Regions from separate parts of the Homo sapiens genome. Here regions 1, 2, 4, 5 and 6 are each linked to region 3. Evidence: promoter capture Hi-C in 16 types of primary human blood cells and fetal thymus (Javierre and others, 2016). All regions are on one chromosome and are shown on one strand. The core of a region is centred on a gene start or on the middle of the fragment in contact, and the rest is flanking DNA. Distances in the headings are between cores, read along the strand shown.

What was found. The method cuts DNA at HindIII sites, captures the fragments that hold promoters and counts their contacts. A CHiCAGO score of 5 or more calls a contact.
Region 1: a contact is called between a fragment that was not itself captured here and the fragment with the promoter of FSD2 in region 3, in 4 of 17 cell types (naive B cells, total B cells, naive CD8 T cells and 1 more). The highest score is 9.7, in naive B cells.
Region 2: a fragment that was not itself captured here is called in contact with the fragment with the promoter of FSD2 in region 3 in 7 of 17 cell types (naive CD8 T cells, naive CD4 T cells, total CD8 T cells and 4 more); the score reaches 13.3 in naive CD8 T cells.
Region 4: a contact is called between the fragment with the promoter of CPEB1 here and the fragment with the promoter of FSD2 in region 3, in 4 of 17 cell types (naive CD8 T cells, total CD8 T cells, activated CD4 T cells and 1 more). The highest score is 9.3, in naive CD8 T cells.
Region 5: a contact is called between a fragment that was not itself captured here and the fragment with the promoter of FSD2 in region 3, in 3 of 17 cell types (naive CD8 T cells, activated CD4 T cells and total CD4 T cells). The highest score is 8.7, in naive CD8 T cells.
Region 6: a fragment that was not itself captured here is called in contact with the fragment with the promoter of FSD2 in region 3 in 15 of 17 cell types (total B cells, naive B cells, naive CD8 T cells and 12 more); the score reaches 28.1 in total B cells.

Annotation. Positions count from the first base shown.
Region 1 is chr15:82,945,482-82,949,866 of GRCh38, reverse strand. All of the region lies in intron 1 of HOMER2 (homer scaffold protein 2), which reads left to right. Among named protein-coding and RNA genes, the nearest start is that of HOMER2, 5.0 kb to the left of the region's middle. The HindIII fragment of the contact is 7,495 bases long and covers 1-4,385 here.
Region 2 is chr15:82,670,069-82,674,723 of GRCh38, reverse strand. The region is part of intron 14 of AP3B2 (adaptor related protein complex 3 subunit beta 2); the gene reads left to right. All of the region lies in intron 3 of CPEB1-AS1 (CPEB1 antisense RNA 1), which reads right to left. Among named protein-coding and RNA genes, the nearest start is that of CPEB1-AS1, 25 kb to the right of the region's middle. The HindIII fragment of the contact is 8,602 bases long and covers 1-4,655 here.
Region 3 is chr15:82,803,144-82,808,108 of GRCh38, reverse strand. It overlaps FSD2 (fibronectin type III and SPRY domain containing 2), which reads left to right and starts at 2,040. Exons shown (of 13, transcript NM_001007122.4): 1 at 2,040-2,143. RefSeq lists an enhancer at 1,657-1,756. The HindIII fragment of the contact is 1,284 bases long and covers 1,423-2,706 here.
Region 4 is chr15:82,644,144-82,648,661 of GRCh38, reverse strand. CPEB1 (cytoplasmic polyadenylation element binding protein 1) reads left to right here and starts at 1,299. Exons shown (of 13, transcript NM_001365242.1): 1 at 1,299-1,525. CPEB1-AS1 (CPEB1 antisense RNA 1) reads right to left here and starts at 892. Exons shown (of 4, transcript NR_046096.1): 1 at 1-892. RefSeq lists a silencer at 510-1,079. The HindIII fragment of the contact is 5,175 bases long and covers 1-2,611 here.
Region 5 is chr15:82,628,846-82,633,787 of GRCh38, reverse strand. The region is part of intron 1 of CPEB1 (cytoplasmic polyadenylation element binding protein 1); the gene reads left to right. Among named protein-coding and RNA genes, the nearest start is that of CPEB1, 16 kb to the left of the region's middle. The HindIII fragment of the contact is 7,050 bases long and covers 1-4,942 here.
Region 6 is chr15:82,986,082-82,990,711 of GRCh38, reverse strand. It overlaps RAMAC (RNA guanine-7 methyltransferase activating subunit), which reads right to left and starts at 4,502. Exons shown (of 4, transcript NM_031452.4): 1 at 4,343-4,502; 2 at 3,328-3,376; 3 at 1,524-1,702; 4 at 1-831. The coding sequence starts at 1,693. The coding sequence ends at 645. It also overlaps a transcript of HOMER2 not described here and a transcript of C15orf40 not described here. The HindIII fragment of the contact is 3,353 bases long and covers 1-3,319 here.

The DNA of each region.
Region 1 (4,385 bases), core at 460-2,959, 140 kb before region 3:
TTCTGTATCTGCGTGGCAGCCACCAGCACATGTGGTTATTGGACACTTGAAATGTGGTTGTTGAGACTGAGGACCTGAATTTTTAACTTAATCTAAATTTAAATAGCCACATGTAGCTAGTGGCCACCATATTGGATAGCATAGCTTTAGTTGCTCTCATCTTAAAAAGGAGATCTCCCTCCCTCCTACATCCCTCTCCTGTTTCACTTCTTTGCTCTTCTTCACCTGAAAACACCTCAGAAGATACATCCAAACCCACTGGCTCCATTCACTTTCTCCTGCCATTTGTTCACTCTCCATACTCTACAGTCTTGCTTCTGCCTCACCTCTGCACCAAAACTGCCAGGGTCTTGGGTGACCAGGGGGTTGCCAGATCTCAGCCTCACCTCACTTCACCTCTCTCAGCAGCATTCCTAACAAATGACCACTCCCTCTCCTCAAAACAACACCCCTCTCAGCTCCTCTGGCCCCACTGTTTCCTGCTTTTCTTCTTACTCCTAATCATGGGGTTGCCCAGGGACTGGTCCTGGTTCCTTTTCTCTGTCCACACTGTCTTCCTAGGTAATACTGTCCCACCTGCAACTCCTCCCCACCCTCCCATGGCTTCAAATGCCATCGATATGCCCATGATGCCCACACTTTAATTTCTAGCTCAGATCTTTCTTGGAGCTTCTGACTCTCGTCAATACATGGAGCTCTTGATATGCCTTCCAGCTCTCACCTGCCTTCCGTCTTCCCCATCCAAGTCAGTGGCCCTACCATGCACTCATTTGCCAAGAGTCATGTTTGAGTCCTCTTCCCAACCTCTCACATGCAGGCTATCAGTTTGTCCTGTGCATTCTACTTCCGGGATATATCTGGAGTGCATTCACCTCACCCCATAGCCATAGTTCCCACTCTAGCCACCATCACCTCTTTCCTAACAGGCCCCCCAGTATCCACTCTGGGTTGTCTGCAGTCCATTTTTCACACAGAAGCCTAAGTGACCAGCTTTTAAAATCATAAATCAGATCATGTCATTCCCCTTTTTAAATACCTCCCACTGACCAGGCGCTGGGCGCAGCTCCCCCTGCCATGCTGCTGTGCCCCTCACTGTGTTCTGCTAACATAGATCTCCTTTCCTTTTCTTGCCTTACCTGAGATCCTTGCACTTGCTGTTTCCCCTGCCTGGAATTCTCTTACCTTCCTCTTTCCTTTCAGACTTTGGCCTCAGGGTCACCCCTTCAGGGTCTTTCCTGCCATCCTGTCTAGAGCACCCACCTCCAGAACTATCTAACCCAGCCCCTTTTCTTTTTTCTTTTGTTGAGACAGAGTCTCCCTCTGTCACCCAGGCAGGAGTGCAGTGGCACGGTCTCTGCTCACTGCAACCTCTGCCTCCCAGGTTCAAGCGATTCTCATGCCTCAGCTTCCTGAGTAGCTGGTATTATAGGCATGTGCCATCACACCCAGCTAATTCTTTTTTTTTTTTTTTTTTTTGAGATGGAGTCTCTGTCTGTCGCCCAGGCTGGAGTGCAGTGGCGCGATCTTGGCTCACTGCAAGCTCCGCCTCCCGGGTTCACGCCATTCTCCTGCCTCAGCCTCCCGAATAGCTGGGACTACAGGCGCCCGCCACCACGCCCAGCTAATTTTTTGTATTTTTAGTAGAGACGGGGTTTCATCGTGTTAGCCAGGATGATCTCAATCTCCTGACCTCATGATTCGCCTGCCCCGGCCTCCCAAAGTGCTGGGATTACAGGCATCAGCCACCATGCCCGGCCACACCCAGCTAATTCTTTTGTATTTTTAGTAGAGATGGGGTTTTACCATGTTGGCCTGGCTGGTCTTGAACCCTTGGCCTCAAATGATCTGCCCACCTCAGCCTCCCAAAGTGCTGGGCCCCAGCCCTACCTTTGTTTCCTATAATTGCTCACCACAGCATGCCAGTAAGCATGCAGGTGTTATTTACTTATTTATAATCCGTCTTCCCCCAGTAGCATCCCAAAAGGATAGGACCTTATCTTTTTCACCAGTGTATTCCAACACCTAGCACAGTGCCTGGCACCAAATAGGCCTCCAGTAAATAATTTTTAATTGAGTTAATGCTTGAATGTTGTGGGCAGCCTTGCTTGGATGCTGGCCTGGAAGCTGTGATAATTTTTGGGTTAACTTTTATATAGCTTGCTTAATTGGGAGTTGCAAGGGCCAAGAGAGAAAGAGATCACATTTGGATGCAGCTTTCTTTTAACATTAAAGCAAGCCATTTAGCTTTCATTGTGATGTGGGTTAATTTTCGGGCCGTCTGCTGTCATTTGAGTACTGGAGTTGTAAATTACCTTTTTACTCTCCTGCAAAAGACTAACAGAAAAGCCAGCTTGTCTACTGTTGTGACTTTTAGCTGATTTTGTCAGTGTTTACAAATAAGATCTACTGTATTACTGTTTGGCTTCATTTTACACTCACTTATTTTGTTCAGCCAAGATTACCTTGCCATGTACAGGTGCCACAATCTTGGTTATCTAACACCTCAGGCTGCCTTTTGGTACTCTATACCGATTTACTTTCTTTTGATGTTCATTCATTCCTTCTTTAATTTTCCATTCCCTCTGAATCACACCAGACTCTGTAGTTCCAACAAATTATAGGGCTGTTCTTTGGGGTTTGAGTTGACTGCAATAGATACAGTCTTTCAGATATGTTGAGGTGAGTTTGTCTTCTCTTGGTCCTGTGGGTTTGTTAAACTTCACTTTCTAATATTCCTTCAGTCTGTACATTGGTAAGGCAGTTGGCAAGTGCTGTAGGGATCCAGAGATGAGCAGACCCACTAGTTAGTTCCTGCCCTTGGGGAGCTTATATTTTGAAAAGGGAGATAAACTACATACACAAGTACCAGCTTTATATGTGAAATGCTGTGAGAGTAAACACAATGTTATAGTCCTTTGGGTATCACAGGTGGTGGTGGAGGGGTGCCCATCTATTTGGGGAATTGAGGAAAGATGCCGTGGTACATTGTGGGGAGGACAGATGCTGTGGTACACTGATGGTTACACAGCCATCCCTCTTAGTATCCGAACTGGAAGAATACACAGAATTTGGAATGGAGTAGGCACTAAATAAGTAGATATTGAATGAGTGTGTAAATAGGTGTGAATGAATATTCTCTTTTGGTTGACTTTCTTTGTTTTTGTTTTTTTAATAAAATACACAGTTTATTACATAGCAATAGGATAAGGAAGGGGACTAGAGGATGTTGCAGTAGGATAGAGATTTTAGATGGGGATCCAGTTAGAAGACTTCACTGAGAAGGAGGCATTAAAGAGCTGAAAGAAGGAGGAGAGTGAGCCATGGAGGTGTCTGAGGGAAGTGTTCCTGGCAGTGTGAATAGTGCGAACAGCAGGTGTAAAGGCCCTGAGGCAGGGGCATGCCTGGCTTGTTCAAGAAATAGTAAGGAAGCTAGTATGGCTGGAGCAGAGTGAGCCAGAGAGAGCACGAAGGTGAAGAGGTCAGGGAGGTAGCAATGGCCAGACCAGTCTTTGGGTTGACTTTTACTTTGGGAAGATGCCATCATTCTCGTTGGAAACTGCCCTGAAGTTTCTGGTCCAAGTGTTGTTAGGAAAGAATAAAGGCATGTTTGCTGCTCGCACAGTTCGCTGGAAATATCAGGGCCAAGTAATTCTGCTGAAGCGGGACGCTGAGCAGAGCACATGGTTTATTTTTGTCGAATAGACTCAGTGATTTGTGTAAATTATTAGGTTTCTTTTCTGGAATGGCTCCTGAGGAACTTAGAGTTAAATGTGTGGTGACCCTTAGCAGATTTATCAGACTTCATCCATTACCTTTATTTCTAGCTCAGTGTGATGGCCCTACCCTTGTTTTGTCTTTACCCTTTATCATCTACCACTTTTTTTTTTTAATGTTTTTGAGACAGAGTCTCACTCTGTTGCCCATGCTGGAGTGCAGTGGTGCGATTTCGGCTCACTGCAACCTCCGCCTCTTGGGTTCAAGCGATTCTCCTACCTTAGCCTCCCGAGTAGCTGGGACTACAGGCGCCTGCCACCACACCCGGCTAATTTTTTGTATTTTTAGTAGAGATGGGATTTCACCTTGTTAGCCAGGATGGTCTCGATCTCCTGACCTCGTGATTTGCCCGCCTTGGCCTCCCAAAATGTTGGGATTACAGGCGTCAGCCACCGCGCCCGGCCATCTACCACTTTTTTTCTTTTTCTTTTTTTTTTAACAAAAGGAAAATAGCTTTGCTTTTTTCTAATTATAAAAAAACTACATGTTTATACTGAAAAATAACAGCATAAAGAAGGAAGTGAAAATTACTTGTCATCCCACGTCTTAGGGATAACCTCCATCAGCATTTCAATGTCTGCCTTTGTACTTTTTTCCATGTATATATGTCT
Region 2 (4,655 bases), core at 1,696-4,195, 130 kb after region 3:
TGAGCTACATGTGCATTTGTTCATTTATTTAACATGTAGGCCTACTATTTGCCTGGTACTGTGCTGCGTCCTGAGGATATGACAATGAGTGAGACACATTTACAGGTCTCCAGATACTCACAGCCAAGTAGGAGAAACAGGACAAAAATAAACATTTTAAACACAGCAGTAACAGCTGTCATCAGGGTTGGCACAGCGAGCTGTGGGTATATACAGCTGAACCCTCCCCTAGGAATGACCCCTGTCAGGGAACCCAGAGTAGGCTGTTCAGGCAAATGGACACTCACCTCCAGGGCGCCCTTCACCTGCAAGTGAGTTTTTGCAGGCCCCTTAGAATGGTTATTTGATTCAATAAAGATTTTTGTCCTCCCTTTCTTTCTCCTTTCTTCCCAGCCTCTTCTGGGAGTGGTAAAGAAGGGGGAGTCCTTGGGGTACTAGGAGGGAGGTGGTTTGGATGCGCACATGACCATGCTTGCAAAACAGTAGTGATGCTTCCCATCCTGGGACCATGAGTGGCAATCTGCCCAGCTAAAAGGCCACAGTAATCTCAGTCATTCTCTCCAATTTGGACATGGGCCCACGGCATGCCAGATCCTGGCCCAGGATGAGGCCAAGGAAATGACCAAGATGAGGCCTCTGCCCTGCTATTGATCAGCAGATAATCAGATACTAGACCAGAGGCCACAAAGGCATAACATGCAGGTGGCGGGGGATGGGGGGGTTGGTAATCAAAGTGGCTATTACATCCACCTGGATATAGACCCTGGGGAAACTGCCTAGCAGGTTAGTTTGCTTTTATGTGTCAGGTGAGATGTGTGGCAGGAGGGTCTGCCAGGGGCACAGTGGGATCTACAACCCTCCCATGTGACCGCCTTTACAGTGAATAGAAGATTCTGACAAATTTTGCAGAATTGCTTTTAAAAACGTAAACTTTTTTTAATATGCTAAAGGTAATACATGCTTATCATAGAACATTTGGAAAACTCAGAAAATTATAAGTTTAAACTATTAATAAGTCCACCATTTAGAAGACCACCATTAATTATATATTTCCTTATTTTTTATTCCTATATATAGTCATTCAGAAGTTGTACTTTTGTCTATTGTCCAATATTTTAAACTTTTCTGCTTCTTTTCAATGCTTTCATATTTAATACTTTTTTTTCCCCATTCACATTTCAATTAAACTTTTCACTTAGAATTTTCTCCAGGCTGGGTTCAGTGGCTCACACCTGTAATCCCAGCACTTTGGGAGCCCAAGGTGGGTGGGTCATTTGAGGTCATGAATTCAAGACCAGCCTGACCAACATGGCAAAACCCTGTCTCTACTAAAAGTACAAAAAAATTAGCTGGGTGTGGTGGTGCGCTGAAATCTCAGCTACTTGGGAGGCTGTGGCAGGAGAATTGCTTGAACCCAGGAGGTGGAGGTTACAGTGAGCTGAGATGGTACCACCACACTCCAGCCTGGGCCACAGAGCAAGATCCATCTCAAAAATAAATAAAAATTAAAAAGAATTTCCTCCAAATTTTTTTCTACTTTCACATTTTTAAATCAATTGTATTAGTTTTCTGCTACATAATAAATTACTATAAATTTGGTGGCTTCAAACAACACACGTTTATTTTCTCAGTGTCTATGGGTCGAGAATTCAGGTATGGCTTAGTTGGATCTTATGCAAGGCTACAACTGAGGTGTCAGCCAAGGCTGAGTTTTTATCTGGAGGCTGTACTGGGGAAAGGTCCACTTCCAAGTCACATGGTGCCACGATCCACTTCCTTGCAGTTGTAGGATTGTGGCCCTGGCTTCTTGCTGGCTGTCAGCTGGGGGCTGCCCTTGCCTTCTAGAGGCCGTCCTTAGCTCATTGCCATAGGGGCCTCCCAACACGGATGCTTAATTTCTCCAAAGCCACAAGGGAGAAAGTCTCTAGAGCCAGTCTGCTAGCAAGACCGTCTTCTTTTTATTTTTTAATTTTTATGGGTACATAGTAGGTGTATATATTTATGGGGTATGTGAGATATTTTGATACAGGCATATAATGCATAACAATCACATCAGGGAATGGGGTATCCATCCTCTCAAGCATTTATCTTTTGTGTTACAAACAATCAAATTACACTCTCTTAGTTATTTATAAATGTATAATAAATTATTGTTGACTGTAGTCACCCTGTTGTGCTGTCAAATACTAGATCTTACACATTCTATCTAACTATAATTTTGTACCCATTAACTATCCCCACTTCCCCCACCCACTACCCTTCTCAGCCTCTGGTAACCATTATTCTACTCTCCAACTCCATGAGCTCAATTCTTTTAATTTTTAGCCCTCACAAATAAGTGAGAACATGTGAAGTTTGTTTTTCTGTGCTTGGCTTATTTCACTTAAAATAATGACCTCTAGTTCTATCCATGTTGTTGCAAATGACAGGATCTCATTCTTTTTTATTCTTTTTTTATAGTACTGCATTGTGCATATGTACCGTATTTTCTTTATCTATTTGTCTGTTGATAGACACTTAAGTTGCTTTCAAATCTTGGCTATGGTGAACAGTGCTGCAATAAACGTAGGTGTGCAGATATAACTTCAATATGTTGATTTCCTTACTTTTGGGTATATACATAGCATTGGGATTGCTGGATCATATGGTAGCACTATTTTTAGTTTTTGTTTGTTTGTTTGAGATGGAGTCTTGCACTGTCACCCAGGCTGGAGTGCAATGGCATGATCTCAGCTCACTGCAACCTCCGCCTCCCAGGTTCAAACGATTCTCCTGCCTCAGCCTCCTGAGTAGCTGGGATTACAGGCGCCCGCCACCAAGTCTGGCTAATTTTCATATTTTTAGTAGAGATGGGGTTTCACCATGTTGGCCAGGCTGGTCTTGAACTCCTGGCCGCAAGTGATCTGCCCGACTCGGCCTCCCAAAGTGCTGGGATTACAGGCGTGAGCCACTGCACCTGGCCTATTTGTAGTGTTTTTTTTTGAGATGGTGTTTCACTCTTTTTTCCCAGGCTGGAGTGCAATGGCGTGATCTTGCCTCACTGCAACCTCTGCCTCCTGGGTGCAAGTGATTCTTCTTCTGCCTCAGCCTCCCAAGTAGCTGAGATTACAGGTGCCTGCCACCACGCCTAGCTAATTTTTTGTATTTTTAGTAGAGACAGGGTTTCACCATGTTGGCCAGGATGGTCTTGATCTCTTGACCTCGCGATCCACCCACCTCGGCCTCCCAAAGTGCTGGGATTACAGGTGTGAGCCACCGTGCCCGGCCTATGTTTAGTTTTTTAAGGAACCTCCAAACTGTTCTCCAGACATTTCCACTAACAGTGTACAAGGGTTGCCTTTTCTCCATGTTCTTGTCAGCATTTGTTATTGCCTATCTTTTGGATATAAGCCTACTTGGGGTGAGATGATATATCTTTTTTTGTTTTGTTTTGTTTTTTGAGACGGAGTCTTGCTCTGTCACCCAGGCTGGAGTGTGCAGTGGTGCGATCTTGGCTCACTGCAACCTCTGCCTCTGTGGTTCAAGTGATTCTCCTGCCTCAGCCTCCTGAGTAGCTGGGACTACAGGCGTGCGTCACCACGCCCCGTTAATTTCTGTACTTTTAGTAAAGATGGGGTTTCGCTGTGTTGGTCAGGCTGGTCTCAACTCCTGATCTCAGGTGATCCGCCTGCCTCAGCCTCCCAAAGTACTGGGATTACAGGCATGAGCCACCCGTGCCTGGCCTTTCATTGTAGTTTTGATTTGCATTTCTCTGATGCTCAATGATGTTGATCACCTTTTCATATACGTGTTTGCTATCTGTATGTCTTCTTTTGAGAAATGTCTATTCAGCTCTTTTGCCCATTTTTAAATTGGATTATTGAATTTTTTTTTCCTATTGAGTTATTTGATCTCCTTACGTATTCTGGTTATTAATCCCTTGTCAGATGGGTAGTTTGCAAATTTTTTCCTCCTATTCTGTGGCTTGTCTCTTTGTTGATTCCTTTGCTGTGCAGAACCTTTGTAACTTGATGTGATCCCATTTGTCTACTTTTGCTTTGGTTGCCCGTGCTTGTGGGGTATCACTCAAGAAATCTTTGCCCAGTACAATGTCCTGGAGAATTTCTCTAATGTTTTCTTTTATTAGTTTCATAGTTTGAAGTGTTAGATTTAAGTTTTTAATCCACTATGATTTGATTTTTGCATATGGTGAGAGATAGGGGTCTGGTTTTATTGTTCTGCATGTGGATATCCCGTTTTCCCAGCGCCATTTATTGAAGAGACTCTCCTTTCCCTAATGTATGTTCTTGATACCTTTGTCAAAAATGAATTCACGGCCAGGCGTGGTGGCTCATGCCTGTAATCCCAGCATCTTGGGAGGCCGAGGCTGGTGGATCACCTGAAGTCAGGAGTTCAAGAGCAGCCTGGCCAGCATGGCGAAACCCTGTCTCTACTAAAAATACAAAAATTAGCTGAGCGTGGTGGCGGGTGCCTGTAATCCCAGCTACTTGGGAGGCTGAGGCAGGAGAATTGCTTGAACCCGGGAGGCGGAGGTTGCAGTGAGCCAAGATCGCGCCACTGCACTCCAGCCTAGGGGACAAGAGCGAGACTTCATCTTCGTCCCCCCCCGCCAAAAAAAAAAAAGCCACTGATTTTTTTTTTTTTTTTTTTTTTTG
Region 3 (4,965 bases), core at 791-3,290:
CTTTTGGAGGCCGAGGTGGGCGGATCAGTTGAAGTCAGGAGTTCGAGACCAGCCTGGCCAAAATGGCCAAACCCCGTCTCTACTAAAAATACCAAAAAAAAAAAAAAAAAGAGAGAGAAAAAGAAAAGTTAGCCGGGCGTGGTGGTGCATGCCCTATAATCCCAACTACTCAGGAGGCTGAGGCATCAGAATTGCTTGAATCCAGGAGGCAGAGGTTACAGTGAGCCGAGATTGCACCACAGCATTCCAGCCTGGGCGAAACAGTGAGACTCTGCCTCAAAAAAAAAAGAAAAGAAAAAATAAAATTATCCTCTCTCTATATATTAATATATGTCTTAGTCCATTCAGGCTGCTATAACAGAATACCATTGAGTGGGTGGCTTGTAAACAACAAACATTTATTTCTCATGGTTCTGGAGGCTGGAAAGTCCAAGATTAAAGCACCAGCAGATTCAGTGTCTGGTAAGGAAGGGCTGCTTCTTGGTTCGTAGATACCTGTATTCTTACTGCATCTTCACATGGAAGAGCTCTCTGGGACCCCCAATGTAATGGCACTAATTTTATTCATGAGGGCTTGCCTTCATGACCTAATCACCTCCCAAAGGCCACATTTCCAAATACCATCACATTGGGGATTTGGTTTCAACATGGGAATTTTAGGGGAATATAAACTGTCTATAGCATATGTATATATATGTATGATGGTTAATTTTAATGTGTCAACTTGATTGGGTCACCAGGTGTTTAGTCAGACATTATTCTGGGTGTGTGTGTGTGATGGTGTTTCTGGATGAGATTAACCTTTGAGTTAGTAGACTGAGTAAAACTGGTTGCCCTCCCTCATGTGAGTGGGCCTCATCCAATCGATTGAAGGTCTGAATAGAACAAAAGCTTGAATAAGAGGGAATTCTTCCTGCCTAACTGCCTTCAAGTGGGAATATGGGTTTTTTTCCTGCCTTCCAACTCAAATGGAAACATTGGCTCTCCAGGGTCTTGAGCCTGCTGGCCTTTGGACTAGAACCACACCATTGGCTCTCCTGGATCTTCCGCTTACTAACTGCAGATCTTGGGACTTTTTGGTCTTCATAATTACATGAGTCAATTCCTTATGATAAATCTGTTTCCATATATGTATACATTCTATTGGTTCTGTTTCTCTGGACAACTCTGACTATTACACTGTGTGTGTGTGTGTGTGTGTGTGCGTGCGTGCATGTGAGAGAGAGAGAGGAGAGAGAGATTATACTGTTATGCTGGTCTGTGGGCTCAGCATCAAAGTAGGAATTTTGCAACACACCCACAGTTAACACTCACTTTTTTCCTCAACACCTAGACTCTTTCAACTTCTTAACAGAGTCAGAATTTTGGAAGAAAAGAACATTAACACTAAATTGTCATTTTATAAATTATTAAACTAAAGCTTAGAGAAATAGTCAATCATAGTCCATAAGGAATGTATTGGCTGGATAGTCCCATTTCTATGCCATACCATGGCAAGTAAAAAAAAAAAATAATAATGTTTGCTTAAGGCTTATATGGGAAGTGTGTCCTGTGCTTTGATTAGAAAAGTGCCCCCAAAATGTTTTTTAACCTTGTATGGTTCATGAGCACCTCTGAGAATCTATTGAAACCTGTGAGTTCTCTTCCCGGAAGTGATTCTATAAGGACACAGACATAATTTTGCATATAATTTTAGAAACTCATTCACTTAAAAAAAAAAAAAAGGAATCTTCTTCCTGGTCTTGCCGTGACAGTCCCCAGCCCTCTCCACATGACCAGCCATCTGAGACCCATGGTAGAGCCACAAGTCTAAAACCCCTCACAGCACAGAAAGTAACTCAGAGCACGGCATGTGACCTCTCCTGGTGACACTTGAGTAGTAAGAAGTGGCAACTCAGCCACAGCAGGTCTATATTTGGACCTTCACTCATGGCAGGCCTGTTGCTATTTGTGGCTGCAGCCAGCTCATGTTACCATCCAGCTTTGGTGCCCCACTTGCAGAACTCTGGTGTAAAATAGGCAGGGGTAGCCTGTGGGGCATGCAGAGGTCACTAGGAAGGAAAGCCTGCTGAACACAGATTCAATTTTCTAGCAGAACTCCAGGTCCTCTGAGTTAAAGGAAGCATTTATGGACGCTTAGCAGGCAAGTTTTGGGGTAGTCATATTCTTCCAATGCAAATTGTATTATTAGAAACTCAATGCTGCAATATTAATGCAATATCTTTCCTGTAGGTGGGAAGAGATATCATGGTAAATTGCAGATGTTTAAATTACAATAAATAGTGTAAATGTTTTCTGTGCCTTCTTAAAGCAAGAATTCGCATTAACTGAACATGATGTTGGGACAGGATGTGAGAGGCTCTGATGAAGGCAGACAGGGGCTGGTGATTCTTATAATGTGTCTTTAGGATATCTGTAGTGCTGGGACCCATTAGTTAGAACCATTTGGTAGAACAGTTTGGAAATATAGATGTTGAATATCATCTGGCTATACTATTGTGTTGTAAATACATTTTATTTAATCTGTGTGTACATGCTGAAAAATAATAACTTCATGCATTGATTCAAATACTAAAAAACAGCATCGTAATTATTTTTCACTTGTTATGCATACAGCCTCCTCCTATAGAAAGTTTTCAGGTTCGGGCAGTGTCTGCAAAGCTGATTTGAATCATTTCATATCACTGTAACACTTTAAGGCAAGCTTTCTTTCACTGCTGTGGCTCAGGAATTGCCAAGGGCTGCATGGAAGAGCTAAAATTATAGGCAAAGTTATGTTCCTGCCCTTATGGAATCACTTCTGGGAAGAGAATTCACAGGTTTCAGTAGATTCAGTAGATATGCCCATGATCCATAAAAGGTTAATAAACAAGCCAAGTGAGGTGGCAGATTGCATGAGCCCAGGAGTTCAAGACCAGTCTGGGCAACATAGCAAGAACCTGTCTCTAAAAAAAAAAAAAAAAAAAAATTATTGGGGGACTTTTCTAAGTAATGCACAGGGATACACCTCCCATATAAGCCTTAGACAAACATCTTTTTTATTTTTTTTAACTGCTTCCCTTGGCATAGAGGAAAGGGTATCCAGCAAAGACATTCATAATGGACTATGACTAATTGCTTTACTTCTCTAAGCTTTAGTTTCACCATTTATAAAATGACAGTTTATTGTCAACTTTCCTTTCTCCCCAAATCCTGATTTTGTTAAGAAAGAGTCTAGGTGTTGAGGGGAAAAGTGACTGTTAACTGTAGGGTGTGTTGCAAAATTCCTACTTTGACACTGAGCCAGTTTGTGTTGAGACCACTTTGTGTTGTGTGTTCGAAGGGCAAGTGCCAGCTTGAAAGCATGTGTTCTTATCTGTATTTGCACTAAGTGTTTTCCAGTCTTCTGACAGTTCAACTTGGTGTTTCACATTCCAGCTTCTGGTTGAAATAATTTCTCATGATGATTTATTGGTCATACAGAATCCTGGCTATTTCCCTTTGGGTAGCACATGGGAATGTAAGCATTATTTTAGTGAACTGCTCCTCTGTCTGTAGATGGTGTGATTTAATGGAAACCTGGGTTTGAATCCAAGCTCTTCACCTGACTGGTTGTGTGTCAGGTGAAAAGCTTGGATTCAAGCACAGGGCTAAATACAGAGTAGCCCAGATACATTTTTGTAAAAGAAAATTGGCTATAAGCAAGTCCTTTATCCTCACAAGATCTCAGTTTTGCCATCCTAAAATCAGGAATTTTTTTTAAACATCCATGACCTGCTGAATAAAATCAGGAAATTGAATTAGATGCTCTCCAAGGGACCTCCATCCCTAGAATACCATATCTCTGCCTGGGCCCCCTGGGAGAGGAATGATCTCATAGCTGATGTCTGTGCGTGGTTATGAGGCTGTTCTGCTTGGTGCCTTCTTTCATCATCGGCTGTTTTCAAGGGACAAATATTCCCACAGTAGCCATGGATGATTCCACACTGCTGTGGTCACTCTCCATGAGTGACTAGGTAGAAGGCTTCTAGCCCAGGTGGGAGATACTAAGGTAGGAATCATGATAATGATAGTAAGAACAACAACAATAACAGCAGCTAACACTTACTGAGGACTTACTTTAAGCTATGTACTATGCATAAAGTACATTATGTTATTTCATCTAAATGCCAACCTTATGAGGTAGACACTGTTAATAGAGCTGTTTTATAGTCCATTAAAGTTAGGCCTAGAGAGATGATTTTCCTGAAGTCATACTTCCAGGATGTGGCAGAAACAATGCAAACACAGGACTCTCTGAATCCAGAGGGCAGTGATCTTGGGGAGCAGGGAGAGGGGACAGGAAAAGGGATATTACTTAGAGATTCAAGAGGTAGAGTCAGAATCAGCATGAATTAGTTATTAATTAGATTGGGGGTGTCAAGGATGAGCTTCTGGTCTCTGGTTTGGTGCTGGAGGGGGTGGATGTCATGCTCTCATTCATGGATAGTAGCAATGCAGTGGACTTCATGGAGGGCCATGTTGGATGAGTATGGGGTTTAAGAAGCAGTGGTGAGATAGGGAAGAGTGGGAGCTCTCAGCAGGCAGGACAGTCTGAGCCAGGGCCTAGGGTGAGTCTCACATGGAAGACCCTGAGCGCGGCCAGAAGGAACAGAGGGTTACCGCTAGGGAAGGTGGGGCTGCTTGGGGAGTATAGAGCTATGGCATGGGGTGGGGGATCCCTGGTGCCCAGGAGAGTTGGGACTTGCCAGTAATGGAGCCCTCAGAATGCACGATGTGCAGATGTACCACTTCTGCCTGAACAAAGCAACATATGCTGTATAAGCTATGCTGCTATCCTGGGCAGGGACACCCCTGAGGAAGGACCATGGTGCGCGCAGTCAGCAGACTGTAGAGACAGGAGGGTTTCAAGCAAGATTTCGAGCCACAGAGGGAAATAGTGGGATTTTGGCACAGACTCTGTGCTTTAGGAAGGAGAAGTACTCT
Region 4 (4,518 bases), core at 50-2,549, 160 kb after region 3:
CGGTCCGCCCCTGCGCCAGGTGCCCTAGGACGCCTGCCCTGGAGCCCTCGCCCTATCCCTTGCCCTATTTCTGTGAAACTTTCTATCTCAGTGTGTCAGGAGCGCCGGAAGCGGTTTCTCCGGAGAACTCCGGTCCAAAGAGGACCAGTGATGTCTTTGGAACTTTCTGGAACTTCCTGACTCTCGCGGCCCCCTCTGCAGCGCACGGAGCAGAGGGTCTAAAGTGAGTGCGCCTCCTGGAGCCCAGGGGCTACAGTTCCGACCAAGGATGCCAGGGCAGGCTCTCGCCCTGGAGAGATCACTGGAAGAGAAGGAGCGCGGACACGAGGCTCTACTGACGAAGCGATCGCCGCCGCTCGCAGGGGCTTGTAAATCGTGCCCTCTTTCGTTAAGAGGGAAACTGAGGCCCAGGGCAGACAGTGACTCGGCAAGGGTCACTTAGGTGATGGCGCGCTCAGGCTTAGGTCTCTGGCCCCCCAGGGGGCAGCTGTGGCTAGCAGCGGCGGCAGTCCCCGCCGGGTTCCGGGTGGGCGGCGGAGCCCTCCTCGGCTCGGCCTGCTAGGAGGGGCGGGGCGCGAGGGGGCGGAGGCGAGGGCCCGGGCGGGGCCGACACAGGTGCTCCGCATCCGGCCGGGGGGCGGCTCCGAGGAGCGGCTCGTAGGAGCTTCATAAGCTGCCGGGGTGCGGGGCTGCGCGCGGCCCGCTGCAAAAATAGTGCCCACGTGCGTGCGCGTCTCTCGCCCGCCGGCTGGCCGGTCAGCCCGTCAGCCCCGCAGGGCCACACCGGCCCCATGGCGTTCCCGCTGGTAAGAGCCACCCGCCGCTCGCCTGGGCGGGGCCGCGTCCCGGCCGCAGTAGCTAACGGTCCGCGCGCAGCCGGGTCCGGCGCCGCGGTACCCCCATCCCCCGCCCCGTGCGGGCGAGTCCCGGGCGGGGCGCGGTCACGTGCCCGCGGGCGTGGGGCCTCGTGGAGGGGTGGAGGGCGAGGGGGGCAGGGAGCCTCCTCGTGACTCAGGGCCTTTGGGCTTAAAGGCGCCGCAGCCCTGCGGGGGCGGCCGGTGGGGCCTCCGAGCCGCACTGCGGCCTCCAGGCGGCCTCGAGCGTCTGTCCAGACGGGAGCTGACCGGACATAAAGGAGCACCGGCGCCCGGAACGTTTCTTTCTCACACTGCCGTCGCACGGGAGACCCGAAGCCGCTGGCGCTGGAAGCTCACGCCCCCTGCGGGTCTCTTTAGCACCCGGCGCGCGGTGGGGGCGCCCGGGCGGGACGGGGCGGGGCTGCTGACGGCGTAGACCCCGTGCTCTGTGGAGAGCCCCACGACGGCGGCGGTCGCGGCACCTTTAAGGTGGAGGGCTCAAGCCCCTCGTGCGGCTTCCCAATCCTGGGCAGGTCACGTGGCTTCACACCTTCGCTTGGCGCCGGAGAGGGAGTCTCGGGGGCGGGGCTGGCCAGGTAGTGTGGCGCGAGGGCGGAAGACTGGCGGGGCTTCGTGCCCGGGAGACCCGCCGGGCTGGCGGCATTGAGGTGGGTCCTGGTCATGGGCGGGAGAGGGTTAGGCTTGCAGGCCGCGGAGGTGGCGTAGGCGGGGAGCGACCCGAGCCCACTCTGGGCTGTGCTGTTCGGACCCTCAGCCTGGCGAGTGGGTGCATGTGGCCTGGCGTTCTGGTCATTCTCCTCAGTGCCGGACGAGGCCAGGTGCCCAGACTCAGGGGCGGCCTCAGGTTTGGCGGAGCAGCGGCTGGGGCCCTGGACGAGTCGCCCCCCGTGATGACGAGCGGTTGGGCGGGCCTGTGCCCGCCTGGAGTCACCTGAGTGTGGGGGGACTCACCCACAAAGGGGTCCTCACCTTGGGGTGTCCCACCCGGCGTCATTCCCCGAGGCTTTTTCATGTCATGGGTTCCTCAGCGGTCGAGTCGACCGAGGCTTTGCTGCCTCATTCCTAGAGGACCCAGGGAGACCAGAAGGCTCTGTGAGCGGCCCCGCGTTGACCCCGTGACCGAGAAAAGCCAGGCAGACGCCTGGGCTCTTGGGCGCTTTCGTGGGCGCGCGCTTATTTTTCGGGGGCACTTTGCTCCCTGCAGCCCTGGCCCCTTGCACCGTGCTCTCAGCTGGGGGAAGAGAGTCGGGAGCCGAATTCGCTCTTAGAAGCCGGGGTGCCTCCCGCCAGGCCCGCCTGGGAGGAGGCCGCGTCTCTCCTCCCCCGCCCCGCGCCTGCAGCCCCGGCCCTGACTGACGCCGCATTTCTCTGGCAACCGCTTCCCTTGGTCTCCCTGGCTACCGCCCAGCCTCCCCGCGCTCTCTCCTGGCACCTGAGTCAACTACTGGGCTGTGTCGTTGGTGGGGAAGAGGGGCAAGTGGGTGGGGTTCCTATTCTGGAAGGCACAGGTGCACCGCCCGCCTCTTGGCTGCCCCTCAGGTGACGGTGCGGTCCCTTGCTAGCGGGAAGAGTGTCTGCTAAGGACAGTTTGCACCCTGAGGCTCATGTTCCCTTTGAGTCTAGGGACACATGCTGGGTTAAAAAATAAAAATAAATTCAAACAGGACCCAACCTTGGAAACCTCAAGTTGGTGATTGTTTTCCTGGTTGGTTTTTTGCATAGTTAGAAAAGCTTGTGGAGCTCAATGGGGCTGCTGGCTGTCGGAAAACCCTGGGGACGGTGTTTTGGGGACTCATCACTGGTCTTTTATTTGTCCCCATTGAGCTGGCTTGGAGCTGAACTGTATTCCCAGAGCACGTTGCTGTAGGAGTTTGGCTTTTTATTTTTTAATATTTATTTATTTATTTATTTATTTTGAGAGGGAGTCTTGCCCTGTCACCCAGGCTGGAATGCAGTCTCGCGATCTTGGCTCACTGCAGCCTCCGCCTCCCGGGTTCAAGCGATTCTCCTGCCTCAGCCTCCTGTGTAGCTAGGATTACAAGCTCGTGCCACCACGCGCGGCTGATTTTTGTATTTTTAGTAGAGATGGGGTTTCAGCATGTTAGCCAGGATGGTCTCGAACTCCTGACCTCGTGATCCGCCCACCTCGGCCTCCCAAAGGGCTGGAATTACAGGCGTGAGCCCCCTTGCCTGGCTGAGTTTCGCTTTTTAAATTTTTTGTCACGGCGATTTAAACTTTGGGTGGCCTGGTAGTGCCTGCTCAGTTTATAGAAGTAGGATTTGGAAGTTGACTACTCTGTGTGTAAGTCAACCTTTGTAATAAAAAAGTACGGCCCGGCCCCATGACTCACGCCTTTAATCCCAGCACTTTGGGAGGCCCAGGCGGGCAGATCACCTGAGGTCAGAAGTTCAAGACCAGCCTGGCCAACAAGGTGAATTCCCGTCTCTCCTAAAAATACAAAAATTAGCCGGGCATGGTGGTGGGCGCCTATAATCGAAGCTACTTGGGAGGCTGAGGCAGGAGAATCGCTTAAACCCAGGAAGTGGAAGTTGCAGTGAGCCGAGATCAGCCACTGCACTCCAGCCTGAACGACAGAGCGAGACTTCGTCTCAAAAAACAAAACAAAACTTGGTTTCCCCCCTCCGAACCGTTTGTCTTGTAAACAACTCCCTGGTCTAGGCTCCCATGTGTGGGAGGGAGGTTGTGCCAGCCTGTGCAGCACATCAGAGGTTGGAGAGCTGATGCCTGTGGTGAATAATCATGGAACCGTTTGCAGTTTGGGTTAGGCCATAGGCGTTTGATACAGGAATGGTTCTATGTGCTTTTCTTTCGCTGTAGTGCACAAACCAGTGCCCATGAAGTAAAAAGTGGAGGAGGAAGATAAAGTAGTAAGACTCCAGGCTCAGCACCAAACTTAACTAGTGACCAAATGATAATAGCTGCCTTAATAAGCATTTTCACTGAGCACAACCATTAGTTTTATTCTTAGTCTTTAAAATGGGTTGCAAACTCAAACCCTATAGGGGCCAGAGGTAACATAAATGAGCAAAGGAGGAGGAAAGAAAGGTAATGGCTTCTGAACTACAGAGTATGTGCCTCTTTGAAAGGAGCAGCCACTAGCTGATTGTTGCTCAGCAAAAATGTGGGCCCAGAGTCGGTGGATCTTTGACTTGCTTCTAAACTGGCTATCTCTATTTTGATGGATCTCCTGACTTTTAAATGTAGCATTAAAAAAATTTTAAACACTATAGACCAAATGTAACATGTCTTTAATGTTGGATTCAACCTGAAGGCTAGTTTGGAATCTGTCTTAAAACATCCGTTTTGGATTTCCCCGCTGTTTTGCAGAAAAGGAAACAGGCTTTAGAAATCAAGTCACAAGGCTGTTAAGTGATGGAATTGTGTGAACCTAGGTCCTTCTGGTGCCGTAGCCCAGCCTATTATGTGTGTTCTGTTATGTCAAAGGATCAAGGGGTTATTGGTGGCGTACATTCTAGAAAAAAGGTGGTGGTCTGGGAGCTGGTCACATTTATAGGCAAAGTGAACCTTAACTGCATTGGCAGGAATCCCAGTTGCTGTAGAAGTCAGTGTGGGTCTTCTGAGTGTTAGTACAGCAGTGCTGATGTTAGGAGGAATGTG
Region 5 (4,942 bases), core at 1,910-4,409, 180 kb after region 3:
TTGTTGTCCTAGTTGATGATCATGGCTATAGGAAAACAGTTTCATGATAGGAGTGTCAGCTCTTATCTATTGGAGAGGAGAAAATTGAGGCCTGATCTAAAATAACTTGGATTAGGGCCAGGCACTGTGGCTCATGCCTATAATCCCAGCGCTTTGGGAGGCTGAGGCAGGCAGATCACCTGAGGTCAGGAGTTTGAGACCAGCCTGGCCAACATGGTGAAACCCTGTCTCTACCAAAAGTACAAAAATTAGCCAGGCGTGGTGGCACATGCCTGTAATCCCAGCTACTCGGGAGGCTGAGGCAGGAGAATCACTTGAACCCGGGAGGCAGAGGTTACAGAGAGCGGAGATTGAGCCATTGCGCTCCAGCGTGGGCGACAAGAGCAAAACTCTGTCTCAAATAAAATAACTTGTATTAGGTGAGTTTCCTCAAAAGCCATTCTTTCTAACAATAGGTAGATAGGTAGAACTAGTTTTATCTTGAGGGTATTTGTGTCTATATCATTAGCATTAAACAATTGTTTTTAAATTAATTTTTTAATTAAAGAATTGTTTTTGTTTTACAGCATTGCCAAGTAATTCTTCCTGTTGACTCCTGATTTTCGGTAGTATTAAGGTTTGCACTCTATTAAGTCTCTGATTTATCTTAAAGCCTTCTTTCCCGTTGACAGTAGAAGACCAACTAAAGGTCAAAAAAAAGCTACAAGTGACCTCACTTTATGGCAAAATATGCTGAAAATAAGGGCAGGAACTGTCAGGCAATAGTAGAATAACCAAGAGAAAAACATTTTTTATCATGGTAAAACATTGGTCTGAATGCAGATCTATACATTGATGAAAGTTCAGATGGACTACACAAAGTAAATGGGTCTGTGAGTATGGGGTGGATAGTAGGTTTCTGTTTTGAAAATGAGGAACTATGAATTCATATAACTGGACGGTTTAAAAGGATCAGTATTGGCTAGATGTGGTAGCTCATGCCTGTAATCCCAGCACTTTGAGAGGCTGAGGCAGGAGCAGCGCTTGAGCCCGGGAATTCAAGACCAGCCTGGACAACATAGCGAGACCTTTTCTCTGAGGGGAAAAAAAAAAGTTAAAAAAAAAAATTAGCTGGGCATGGTGGCGCCTGTCTGTAGTCCAGCTACTTGGGACGCTGAGGCAGGAAGATTGCTTGAGCCCAGGAGATCAAGGCTGCAGTGAGCTGTGATTGCAGCACTGTGCTCCAACCTAGGGGACAGAACAAGACCCCATCTCTTAAAAAATGTGTGTGTGTGTGTGTGAATATACACAGTACACATGTCGAGCAGCCCTAATCTGAAATGCTCCAAAATCTGAAACTTTTGGAACACCAGTATGTCACAAGTAGAAATTAGACACCTGAATTCATGATGGGTGACAGTTAAAACACAGTCAAAATTTAATTTCATGTACAGAATTACTAAAAATATTGTATAAAATTAACTTCAGGCTATGTGTATGAAGTATATATAAAAAATAAATGAATTTGGCTGGGCGCAGTGGCTCACGCCTGTAATCCCAGCACTTTGGGAGGCCAAGGTGGGCGGATCATGAGGTCAGGAGATCAAGACCATCCTGACTAATGTGGTGAAACCCCATCTCTACTAAAAATACAAAAAAATGAGCCGGGCGTGGTGGCGGGCGTATGTAGTCCCAGCTACTCCAGAGGCTGAGGCGAGAGAATCCTGTGAACCCGGGAGGCGGAGCTTGCAGTGAGCCGAGATCACACCATTGCACTCCAGCCTGGGCGACAGAACGAGACTCCGTCTCAAAAAAAAAAAAAAAAAGAGAAAAAAATAAATGAATTCTGTGTTTAGACTTGGGCCCTATCCCTAAGATAGGTCATTATGTATATGCAAATGTTCCAGCTTCCAAAAAAAAAAAAATCCAAATCTGAAACACTTCTTGGTCATCTCAGCATTTCTGATGAGAGATACTGAACCTGTAGTGGATTCAGCCCTTAGGTCTATTTGAATCATATCTCTTGCCTTTTAATTAAGCATTTTAAGTCAAATGATTAAGAGGAAGAGTTAGGGGGTACCAGGAATAGAAGGGCCTGGAGTCTTCAGAGAAATAGTTGCCATAGGTCTTTGGTTCACTTAATGAGCCAATAGATCCTTCCTCAAGGATCCCTGTGGTGGCCTCTGAATAATAATAATGATACGACTGATAGACAGTATTCGTTGGTTCAGCACATAATTACATGTCAGGCCCTATGCTAAGTACTTTATGTGCATTAATTCACAAAAAGCCTTATGAGATAGTATTACTTTTATCCCTATTGTACACAAAGGAGAGTAGTAGATCTGTTCGCCATCTGACAGTCCTGGCTTTGATTTTTTTTTTTTCCTTCCAAATTGGTTAAGGCAAACATTGGTAATTATAAGATGAAACAGTTTGGAATATACATTGAACACCTCATTCACTTTTATTATAATGTCATCTTAAGCTAGAGCTCTGGCTTGATGTATGTGAGAGAAGGGGAGGGAGGCATGTCAGATATCATTTGCCTTGATTTGGGAAGGTGTGTATGTTCCTAACAGGATTAGGAGTGGGGCAGGGTGACCAGACACATTCCTAAATTAGATTTTTTTTTCAGACTCCTTGAAATAGTAAGATTTCCTTCCTCTCCTAAGGAATACCTTTCTCCCAGACTCCCAAGTCTGCATCTGTTCCCTAGACTACTGTGGTACTTTCTCACTAATCCTTCTGCCACTTATCTGTCATGTAGTTGCTGGTGGTCTCCTTCTAAGACTCACTTTGTTATTTACTTGCCTTTAGATGTGGCCAGGATCTGGAATCCATGTAGTCCATATATATATAGTACTTTTATTACAGTAATTAAAAGCTAGGTTAATTTTTGTGTATTGAAAAGACACAATTTTGTGTATTGAAAGACAATGCTGACTCCTTAATTTGGCATATGAGGCTTTTCCAATTTTCTCTCCTATACCTAATGCTGTACCACACTGGACCACTTTTGATAATGCCTCTCTACTCTCTTGTGTTCTTTAGAACTTCCTCTTTACCCCCATTTCCAGGCACATTCTGTCCCTCCAGGCCACCTTGGCTTGGAGGACAATGTACATTTACAGCACGTTGTAGTCTGTGTTGTGGATGTTTACAGGATCGGGTCTTAGTTCTTTTTCTTTCTTTTTTTTTTTGAGACAGGGTCTTGCTCTGTCACCCATGCTGGAGTGTGGTGGCACAATCTCTGCTCACTGCAACCTCTGCCTCCTGGGTTCAAGCATTCCTCCTACCTCAGCTTCCTGAGTAGCTGGGACTACAGGCATGTACCACCATACCTGTCTAATGTTTTGTATTTTTTGTAGAAACAGGGTTTCGCCATGTTGCCCAGGCTGGTTTTGAGCTCCTGCCTGCCAAAAGTTCTTTTCCAGACTTCAAAACTTTATTTTGGTTTAGTCTGTGTCTAATCTGCTGCCCCTTGGGGTGCTCACTATAGAGAGCAGGCAGTCGGCTAATGTTTATTAGGCAGTGAAGAATGAAGCATGTAGCCTTAAGATAATGCAGATTGTGCTAGGCAATGGCACGTGCCTGTAGTCTCAGCTACTCAGGAGGCCAAGGTGGGAGGAGCACTTGAGCCCAGGAGTTTCAAGTTCAGCCTGGGCAACACAGCGAGACCTCCTCTCTGCAGGTTATAAATCTTTGCATCTTAGCCTTCATGAAGTTGCCTTCCTGAAATTGAGAATCAGCTTAGAAATCTACAGTTGTGAAAAGGGCCTTGTGTGTCACTGGATTTAACAGTTCTCAATGGCACCACTCTAGAGAGCTTGGGAAAACAACCTTGTAGGATTGTGTATTTTGGTCGTCTTCACAGTTTGCAGAGGGTACCAATCTTCAAGAACTTGAGGCTGACGTGAGGCTCAAGTTTGTCCCTTTAAGGTCATCCTGCAGAGTTGGTAAAACTGTAAATGCTCTTGGTCATTCTCATGCTCACTTGGATTTTAGTAGGCCAAACAAAATGACATTGGGCCTCTTCTTGTTTTGTTTTGATGTGACCAGCTTATGAGATATTAAGTGCCAGTTTCATTACTTGGTCTGTTTTTGTTTTCCGCAAGATAATTGAGGATAATAGAACTGATGAGGCAGGCTCCCCTTAAAAAACTCAATCTGTCAACCAATATTTCATTGCTTCTTATGTTGGGCATTGGCTGTGGAGAGTGAGGGAGACCGGAGTGAAGAATGGTACCTACATTTCTGCTTTGGGCATCTGGTGGATGGTGGTGTTATTTACCGAGATAGGGAATACCAAAAGAATAGTTTTTGTGTAAGGGTTCATGATTTTTTATATATATATATAGGAGTTCTTTTTTCATTCGGTAATGTCTTACCCATCTTCTCATGCCAGTTAATAAAGTTGTATGTACTAATAATGACCACATAGAGTTGTATAACTTAATCAGTTTGGGTGGTTTTACCACTGTTGGTACTTACCTCTCTTGTATTCAATAATTAGTGTTTGCAGATACAAATTAGCAGCTACTGTATGCCATGCAAAATGCTTTACATATGTCATCAAAAAGTTGGTATCCTTTTTCCATTTCACAAATGGGGAAACTGAGGGATAGAGGTTAAGTAACTGTGATATCACACAGCCAATAAATGGCAGAATGAAAATTTTTAAACAGCTGTATTGACATAAAATCTACATACCCTAAAGTTCACCTTTAATGTACAGTTCATTGGTTTTTAGTCCAGTTGACTCTTGGACAGTGTGGGAGTTAGGAGGACCAACCCCCACAGTCAAATATCTATGTATAACTTTGACTCCCCCAAAACTTGACTAATAGCCTGCTGTTGACCGGAAGCCTTACCGATAACATAAACAGTTGATCACATGTTTTGTATGTTACATGTATTTTATACCGTATTCTTACGATAAAGTAGGCTAGAGAAAAAATGT
Region 6 (4,630 bases), core at 394-2,893, 180 kb before region 3:
CCAACCACCACCAGATCAAGACACAAACTGACAATGATTCCTTCCTTATTTTACAGCTTTATTACTGATTTCCCTCTAAAAAGAGACTCAAGTGTGGAGCTGACTCATCTATAGATTAAGGAATCACAAAGTACCATAGTCACTTAACAAATGCAAAAAAAAAAAAAAGCAATTGTTTTACCTTTCAACTGCTGATGTTATGTACAATCTATCACAAAAAGCATAGCTGTGCATTCATGAGCTGATTATATCAACCTCTAGAATTTTAGAAACGAGCACATCTAAGCATATGGATACTCTCTTACCTTACAAAGTAAAAGCATTTTCTATTTTAAAATTTTTATTTCTGTGTAAAACAAAGAATTCCTAGAGGTCAAATAATATACCAAACTTAAAGCACTATTAAGTCATGAAACAAAGAAGATTCTGAGGTAGAAGTCAAGCAATATAATCCACAGTTTCAGGTATTCCCAGCAACCATCGCATTTCGCAAGTAAGATCTATTTTTTTTAAAGTCTCAACTTCCAAAAAATCAATAATCCATTCTGTAAAATCAGATGTAAAACTATGACCAACAGAAGACACCCAAACTTTTCTCATGGTAACAGAGTAAATGCTTTTACTAAAAGCTGCCAACATTTCTATCAGTAGTAACCGTAAGGAGGCCGCTGGTTGTAACCATAATGTCCATATTGCTGGGGATAGTAAGGTTCTTGTCTGTGTTGCGGGTAGTTGTTACCCCAGGATCGTCCATGCCACTGATTGGATCGATTGTCACTTGGCCACCCCCATCTGTTGTCCCTGCCTCTGAACTGTCTGTTGTCTTGCAACCTACAACAATAAAACAAAAAAGATCTTTAAACTTCCCTTGTTAAAAAAAACATATGACAAACCCATAGCAGTGCTTCTGGTTTCTCATTCTAATACACAATAAATAAGACTAAAAAACATTTTTCACAATAGAATGTTATAGTGCCAGTTATTCAAAACTTTCCTAAGATTGAAATCATTCTTCCAGTATTATACTAGGTACACTTTACAGAGACATAGGCAGACTATATAACCAATAGAATAGTTCCAAATTAAAGTGAAATCTATTCAATTGTACAAAAATGGTATGGTAATTTATTCCTTTGACTATTTTGAATTATTAAGTAAAAGTAACTTCCATTTGTAAACTTCTTCCTAAAGTAAAATCGAAACAATGTTTTCTTTATGGAATTGAACAAGCTGTAGAAAACTCTAGGTTTTTAAAGTAGATTTGCATTGAAAATATTAGTCTACAGAAAAAACATCTAAAAACAAAAAAACACACGCACTTGAACAGCAAGGAAAAAATACATGGTGCTGAAAAAATATTAAAGCAAATATTTATCAGAAATGATGTACCAGGTACTGTTATTAGGTACTAGGTATGCCATACCAAAAACACTGGTCCCTGCCCTCACTGGCCTTCCAGTCTAGCAGATTAAAGCTATCCTCTGCCAGATCAACTATCTGCATTTATTCTTTTGAATACACACCGATTGCCTCTGTTTCTTTGGTTCCCACCAGCTCTGCTATTCCATTCCTCAACAATTGGAGGAGACTCAGGAGGGCGTTTCAGGTATTCCTGATACTCCTTGTCATTTTCTGTGAATCTACTAGCAAACATCTCTTCAAACTTTGGAACAGCTTCGGCAGTGTCAGTCATTCTGAAAATCTGTACAATTTTAAAGACATTTCCATTAAAAAAAATTTAAAAATTAACACTCTCTCCAAATAATGAAAAACCAAGAAGTAAGCAATTTTTAGGCGGGGTATTCATGGAAGTCTTTGTGTGCTTTCAGACATGTCATATTTTAGATATTGAATTCAACATTTTTTTTTTTTTTTTGAGACAGGGTCTCTCACTTTGTCACCCAGGCTGGAGCACAGCGGCACAACCTCGGGTCACTGCAGCCTTGACTTCCCTGGCTCAAACAATCCTCCCACCTCAGCCTCCCAAGTTGCTGGAACTACAGGTGCATGCCACCCACACCCGGCTAATTTTCGTATTTTTTGAAGAGACGGGATCTCGCCATGTTGCCTAGGCTGGAAGTCTTGGGCTTCGGTGATCCTCCTGCCTTGGCTTCCCAAAGTGCTGGGATTACAGGCATGAGCCACTGTGCCTGGCCCGAATTATTTTTCTTACTTTATTAACTTCCAATAAAAGGTTTGGGACAAAAAGATGTGACAATGGAAGCTATTGTGATAACTTCTTCATTAGTCTGCCTTTCCTCCAAACATATGCAAATATTTGTAACATTTATACTACCTACTTTAACCCCAACAAAATTAAACGGAAATTATTGTTGCATTGCAAGAAACAATATGTAGATTTTTTCTTTTTCCTTTTCCCCCAGACGGAGTCTTGCTCTGTCACCCAGAGTTGGAGTGCAATGGCGCGATCTCAGCACACTGCAACCTCTGCCTCCCAGGTTCAAGCAATTCTCCTGCCTCAGCCTCCCAAGTAGCTGGGATTACAGGCACGCGCCACCACACCCAGCTAATTTTTGCATTTTTAGTAGAGATGGGGTTTTGTTGGCCAGGCGGGTCTTGAACTCCTGACCTCATAATCCGCCCGCTTTGGCCTCCCAAAGTCCTGGGATTACAGGTATGAGCCACTGCGCCCAGCCTTTTTTTTTTTTTTTTTTTGAGACGGAGTTTCACTCTTGTTGCCCAGGCTAGAGTGCAATGGCGCGATCTCGGCTCACTGCAATCTCTGCCTCTCGAATTCAAGTGATTCTCCTGTCTCTGCCTCCCGAATAGCTGGGATTACAGGTGCACGCCCGCTCGCTAATTTTTGTATTTTTAGTAGAGACAGGGTTTCATCATGTTGGCCAGGCTGATCTTGAACTCCTGACCTCAGGTGATCTGCCTGCCTCAGCCTCCCAAAGTACTGGGATAACAGGCATAAGCCACCGCGCCCAGCCTGACACTCTTATCTTTCAGGCTATTGCTCTTAGTATGCTTTATCAAATACCAAATATCAGACTTTCAATGTGTCTGGGATTGGCAAACTATATCAAATTCTCAAATCCAAGGAATGAGTTTTAAATAAATTCAGCTAATTAAAAATCATGTCTAGAATTCTAGTGGGATCACAGAAATCACTAAAAAGATGACCCATACCTAATCCAGATGGGCAGTAAAAATCATAAGGCAAGGAAAAGGTGCTACTCCATTTTTATGTTCTCATATGTTCTCCCACGACTCCCCACCCATACTCATGTAAACAAATATCAACTGTATTATTACTGAGAACGAAATTTAAATAGAATGTTAATCGACCCAAGCTTTACTTACCCCAAAGGTTTGAGGCAGCTGTACTGCTTAATGTTTAGGTTGTTTAAATCTGTGGGAGGAAAAAAACAAACTTGACTTTATTTAAGGAAACTCTCAAAAGGTGTTTGTAGGGGAGGGTGGCGCATAAGAGTCTTATTCAAGGAAAGAATTGGAGTAAAAGTGCTCTAAGGCCAGGCGCGGTGGCTCACCTCTGTAATCCCAACACTTTGGGAGGCCGAGGCGGGCAGATCACGAAGTCAAGAGATCGAGACCAGCCTGGCTAACACGGTGAAACCTCGTCTCTCCTAAAAATAGAAAAAATTAGCCAGGCGTGGTGGCATGTGCCTGTAGTCCCAGCTACTCGGGAGGCTGAGGCAGGAGAATCGCTTGAACTTGGGAGGCGGAGATCGCGCCACTGCACTCCAGCCTGGGCGACAGAGCGAGACTCCGTCTCAAAAAAAAAACAAAAAACAAACCAAAAAAACGCTCTAAAGACTTCCAAAGCTAATATTCCAAAGAGGGAACTGGTTCTCAAGAGCAAGAAGCTACAAGATTTGTCCTCTGGGCCTTCAAAAGCAAAATAGTTCAAGTATGAATACAAACTTCATAAAGTATGTATGTTCTTTTAGGGTAAGCCTTTCAGATTTGTACTTGAATACTGCTAATTTATTCACCACAAATAAAACCACAAAGAACTTTGGCTGCGGGCGACTAACCCTGGAAATAACCAACCAGAATGGGGTTTCGCTGCCCTGGGAGGTGAGCCCGGGGAACAGACGAAGATGCAGACTGAAAACAACTGCGTTTTCCAGTCCGTCCTCAAGGCACATCACAGCTTGCTTACCAAGGTTCTGGCAGATTTGCTCCCTTCCGAAGCACCTTATACCTCCAGAAGTGAGGGAAATTATGGGCCGTGAGAAGTAAACGGGCTTCGGTCTAGCAAAGAGTACAGATCACCGCACAGGGGGAGGACACCTCGCTGGCCACCCAGCTCGGCCGCCCCGCTCCCTCCTCCCGGGCGTCCGGGGCGACTCACCCGCCAAGGGCTATGTCAATCCAGCTCAGGCCGAACCCCGCCGGCGAGACACTGAGAAGCCCAGGAGAGGTGGCCTCTGGTCCACTACACCGTGGAACTCCAGACCACTCCAGTTCTCCAATGTAACCGAGCGCCTTCCTCTAAAATCCGACAACCACCTGACTTCCGCTTCCGGCGGGCTAAAGTTGAGGGTGCCTGTCAAGTCTCGCGATAACTAAGGCTCTCCGTGTGGATCGCTTTGCAACAGATCGCTTCTTCAAATGCTGGCACAACGCCCAGAGCTCGATG